2 separate regions of the Homo sapiens genome follow, and region 1 is linked to region 2. The links are contacts of gene promoters, found by promoter capture Hi-C in human tissues and cell types (Jung and others, 2019). All regions are on one chromosome and are shown on one strand. The core of a region is centred on a gene start or on the middle of the fragment in contact, and the rest is flanking DNA. Distances in the headings are between cores, read along the strand shown. Region 1 overlaps ZNF512 (zinc finger protein 512). Region 2 holds the start of MPV17 (mitochondrial inner membrane protein MPV17).

Evidence for each region. The method cuts DNA at HindIII sites, captures the fragments that hold promoters and counts their contacts. A contact is called where the count stands out against the background at its distance.
Region 1: a fragment that was not itself captured here is called in contact with the fragment with the promoter of MPV17 in region 2 in 3 of the 25 tissues and cell types used here (adrenal gland, spleen and stomach).

Annotation. Positions count from the first base shown.
Region 1 is chr2:27,619,870-27,622,569 of GRCh38, reverse strand. ZNF512 (zinc finger protein 512) reads right to left here. Exons shown (of 14, transcript NM_032434.4): 14 at 1-1,417. The coding sequence ends at 1,109. Among named protein-coding and RNA genes, the nearest start is that of CCDC121, 7.8 kb to the left of the region's middle. The HindIII fragment of the contact is 6,428 bases long and covers 1-2,700 here.
Region 2 is chr2:27,321,755-27,324,454 of GRCh38, reverse strand. MPV17 (mitochondrial inner membrane protein MPV17) reads left to right here and starts at 1,358. Exons shown (of 8, transcript NM_002437.5): 1 at 1,358-1,403; 2 at 1,933-2,007. The coding sequence starts at 1,938. RefSeq lists enhancers at 549-1,521, 1,644-1,703, 1,754-1,803, 1,814-1,903, 1,914-1,963. The HindIII fragment of the contact is 20,851 bases long and covers 1-1,663 here.

The DNA of each region.
Region 1 (2,700 bases), core at 148-2,647, 300 kb before region 2:
AAGAATTTTTCTTTCCAGCTCCAGATAAATATCTACATCTGGTGTCAAAGTCTCAGGATATAAAGAGGAGAGAACTCCATATATAAAAGAGGATAGGACAATATTCTCAGAAAATTCAAAAAGACAGAGGTTGGCTAAGGGGATGGGTGGAAACAGTGGGGCGTAGACTAACAAGTAAGGTAAAGTCCAGGGAGAAGGAATGCGCACCTTGGTTTTCCCTTAGTGGCACTACCAGGAGCACTAGGAGACTGTCAAAACATCAGGGGCAATGTGATATTTCTCAATTCTTAAAACCAAAGAAGCAAAAATAAGCTTCAGAGGGCAAGTGATCATAGCTATGGATGAGGCCTCGGGCTCCAGGAAAGTTGGGGCAGTATTTATTGCTGCTTCTACTTTCTCTTTCCTGTCATTTTAATGTTTGGGTCACTTTACTCCTAAGGTTGCTTTTCATGTCTGTGGGTCTAGTCACTGCTACTTGGTACAAAGCATTTCCCAGTATAAACAGCATAGGGTAGTTCTAGAGTTTTCATCCTAAATCCGTTTTCTTACTTTCAATCTTAAAACCATATTGAGAGGACAAACAGCCTCCATAAAGTTTTTTTCCCAAGGAGACAGAGTAATCTTATTATGTGAATGACAACAGTTCTAACTTCTAGACTTGTTATATCACAAATACAAAATGACAAATCAGTTATGGTTTTAAAAAATTAGTTTGGAATGGTTTCACAAGCTAGATGATGGAGCAGCTACTAAATCAATGGAGCTTCCAAGAACATTCTATACCCCAGGAAGGAAAGGACAACCAAAGAGGTTTCTTAGTTTTGTACAGGGCAAGAGGAGCCTATAGTTGGCCTTGAGAGGGAGCTCTTTGGGCAAGATAAAAAAACAAGAGGACTTGACGAGGAATAGCAGGAAAACCTACTAAAAGGGGAGGGGGGAATCAAAATGTAAGAAGGGAAGACAGTGAAATTTACACAGGAGGAAGGAGCTGAGAAAGTCACAGCCTTACACAAACAGCTGAAAGAATCTTCACTCAGTCCTCCCAGCACAGGTCCCCGTGACAACAGCATCACATCTGCTTTCCTAGGAGCACTTTTACACTGACTGCCTATTTCCTTCCTCGTTTATGATTAGTCTTTGGGGGCTTTACTTTCTGGAACTGTGCTGGCACTGGCTCCTGCTCTGGTTCCTTACAGGAGGCTGACACTACCAGTTCCTCATTATTCCTCCTCTGATCCTTCCCTACTCTAAGACTCAGCTCTGTCTCGGGAAGCTCAATGCCAGGCTGCTGCCGCCTTCTTAGAGACCTTCTGCTCCTGTGCTGCTGCCTCCGCTTTTCTTCTTCTTGCTGCCGCTGCTTTATCTTCATCAGCTTTTCAAAGCTTTTGGTTGTTGTTGGGTTTACAACGAACCAGTCCTAGAGAGGCAAAATAGAAATGTCATCCAGTCGAAAATATAGTGAAGAACATAAAGAAAGGTGGAGGAAGAATGGAAAAAAGGCATGATTAGGGCAGAACACAGTAAGAAGGAAACAGATATGGAACCATACCTCAGGATTCTATATTTTAAGATGGAGAAATCCAACACAGAGCAGCTATTACAAGCACATATTTTGTAAGGCGTAATTCTAGGGACTTTAATAAATGATCTACAAAGTCTGTTTACTTAGCATCATCCCACTCTTATATCTCCTGAGTATAAATCTCATCATGAGATGTAACACACTGAGCCATAGGAGATTTTTATTCCATGACGGCATCGTAACTAAGAGCATAAATTTTGCAGCCAGACCCCCTGGGTGCAAATCCCAGCTCTGTTTCTAGATACGTGACCATGGGCGAATTACTTAACATTTTCGAGGCTCACTTTAAAAAATTAAGGGGTAGGGGACATGAAATCCAATTATGAAGTATTTTTGCCAAAAAAGAAAGAACTTCAATCTTATCAAGTGATCTGTTCAATCTTCTAAATCTACCAATTCATAGGAAAAGCCAGAATAGGGAGTTGAGCCCAATCTCTCTGCCCCACTGCAAGACTCCACTGCAGTGGTCCCTGTACCTCAAAAACAAACAACAACAACAAAAAGCAAAAAAGGAAATGGCCAGAATACAGGAATACTATCATAGGGTGCAATCAGCAAAATTCCAGAATGTGGGTACATGTATGTGACAAGTGATCCGGTTTCTTCAATAAATGGCAAATTTGTAAAAAAGAAGAGGAAGCTTTTAGTCTTGCACCATGCAATGAGATAGCCACTAGCCACATATGGTAAGTGATGTGTTTAAATGTGAGTAGAACAAATTAAGATATGCTTTCATGTAAAATATACAACAAATCTCAAAGACTTGTTATGAAAAAAATGTAAAATATCTCAATAATTTATTGATTTAATGTTAAAAATAATTTTAGATATATTGGGCTTAATAATTATTAACATTAATTTCATCTTTTAAAATACTTTTTTAATGTGGCTACTAGAAAATTTTAAATTATATACATGGCTCACAGTACTTTTTTTGGATAGTGCTGCTCTAGATTAAAACAAACAAATGCAATATTTAGACCTTGTTTTAGATCCTAATTTGAAAAATCAACTCTGAAAAAACATTATAAGATAATCAGGGAAATTTAAATAATAACTAGACATATGATAATATTAAAATTCTTAACTTTTTTAGGTATAATGATGTTTGTGGTCAT
Region 2 (2,700 bases), core at 109-2,608:
TCGCATGTGTCACTTGTATGAGGTAGGTATTGCCATTTTACTTAATGATAAAAGAGTTGGAGAGGGTAAGCTGTCTGTAAAAGGTCAAGGTCATATAACTAGTAAGTGGTGGTGCTGGGGATTTGAACTCAGTCTAACTTCAGAATATAACTTTACAGCCTACCACATTTGGTCTCCTATTACATTTACTTTTGTCAGTTCACTCCTCTAGCATGCTGTTTTGCAAATAGCATTTTAGTTAAATGTTTGTGACATTGACTTCTCTTGCTTCCTTACTCTGTTTCTCCAGGATTTGTGGCAGGAGTCTCCCTGCCTTAATCATAAAGGAATTGAGTAAATTGGGGGTGGAGCTGGGCAGGTGGAGAGCCTGAAAGAGTGTGCCTCCTGACGTGTGGGCTCCCTGGAGATAAGTAAAGCCTGCCAGCCTGACAAGTCCATTGCCAGGGATATTGTAGACATTTCCAACGCTCTAGAAAGGATATTGCTCTATATTCACAGACTCTTAGAATGTTAGAGCTGGAAGGGGATTAAGAAATCACCTAGCTTACTGGTTTTCAAACATGCAGTTGTGGGCCCCGTTAAAAATGGGTCTTTTGAGAAGTATATACTTGGAAAAAAAAGTTGGAGAAGCAGCTGTAGTAATGCTGCCCCTCTCATCCCCACACACAAACATCTGAAAAATCCCTAGAACTGAGGAGCCGAGTTTGGAAAGTCAATAGTGTAACCTCCCTCATTTTACAGATGCAGAGCCTTAACATCAAGTCTAGTCATGACCAAGGCTGCACAGCCCGTTAGTTTGGGAGCCAATACCTAATGTCTTCTGAGGTTCTAATTCCAATGCTTTCTGTGGAAGAATCATACATACGCAGTATTTCTTAAGTGGCTGTTTGCGGCAAAGCACTGAAATAGTTGCTATGAGGACGACAAATATGAACGACCCCAGTTTTACCCACTCATGAGCTCACAGTTGAGGCCAGTGAAGAACCTAGAGACAAAACACGCACTTAACTATAACTTATAGTTCCCTAACTACGATTGCTGAGACAAGGATCGTAGTTATGGCCAGTTATGCGGGGAGGGTGGGCTGAACAATGAGACTACCGGATTGAGAGAGGCCCGGGTCTCGCGCGGAGAGAAGGGGCAGGAGGAGGCAGAGGGTCGAACTTAGGTGAGAAATATGGCTGGCGGGCCCCACACCAGGGTCCGGCACAGTCCAGCTGGAAAAGGGGTCTCTCACAGAGTGGGTGGCCGAGTTAGGCCGCTCTCCACGGGTATTCATGGCTCGGTCCACCCCCATTCCTGTCCTGGCTGCGTAATCCGAAGGACGCTGGGAGGAAGGGGCGGGACTTGTGGCGGAAGTTCCTAGGCCAGCCTGTCACGTGGGAGGGAGGCTCGGCGCTCAGGTGAGTGGCGGGTGATCTGCGGTCTCTGGCTTAAAGCGTCGCAAGCCATGAGTGCCCACAAGGTGTGTGGTCATCCTATATCCGGGCAGTGACGGGCCCTATTTTCGGTTTGGAGCTGGACTCAGGAAGGTTACAAACTGGTTCCAACCAAGTCTGAATCTGGAGACGGACCAAGCTATCTTTTGAGGCACCCAAGCTCTGGGTAGAAGCCAGAGCAAAGCTGTCCTCATGAGTGTCTCCGTCGGGAACGGAGGCTTCCAGGTGGTCTGGCTTCAGGAATGAGGTTGGGGTGGCTGGTGGCTGCTACCAGGAGTCCATAGCTTCCCACAGCCTTTCTCTCTTCCCCAATTGTCTAAGGCGACTCCTGCGACAGGAAGCTGTCTGGGAAGCATCCTTCATGTGGCCTCTGCCCCTTTAAGTCACATTGGAAGTGGGAAGGGGAAGGGAGTGGGCACAAGGGAATGTCAGGCGGCTTCTTAGTCGTGGAGAGGGACGGTGGGGGTGACCCCCTCTCCTCTTGGCTTGACAGGAAGCATGGCACTCTGGCGGGCATACCAGCGGGCCCTGGCCGCTCACCCGTGGAAAGTACAGGTCCTGACAGCTGGTGAGTGTCCCTCTAGGACTTGAGTGGGACCAGGGCAGACTGATTTGGAAGCCAGAGGCTTGCCCCACTGCACCACCCTCACTTCCTGTTTCTATTCGGCTCTCTTGAAGGGTTGGCTGTCTTTCATCCTACACTGTCCCCAGTCTGTTTTGGAGGGTGGTCCCCAAGGCTGTTTTTAAGGGGTATGCGTAGTTGGCCAAGCTGTGCAGTAGGGTTTTAGGATTTCAAAGTCCTCAAAAAGCTGAACAGTCAGCCCTGAAGGATAAAGGCATTGCCCCAGGAGGCCTCAACTTGGAAAACATTTTACCGTATGCAAAGCACTTTCATATACGTTATGGCATAGGGCCCCCACAAAGGTGTGTGAGCTAGGAGGGTTACTTGAGTCCACATTAGATCACACCTAATAAGTGCTGAATCAAGACTCTTACCCCAGTTTTTCTTGGTATTTTTTATTGTGAAACATACAAAAGAATGATTAAGATGTGTATGTACAGTTTAAATGGCATTAAAACTGAACACTCCTGTGTCAGTAATCAGCTTTGAGACCTCTTGAGTGCCTCTCCGTAATTCACCCAAAATTTCCTGAGTTTTGTTTATATCGTTCATTTGCTTTTGTTATCATTTACTGCCTAAATATGTATCTCCAAGGTTAGTATATTGGTATCTGATCACTCCATCCTGATCCATTTGGAG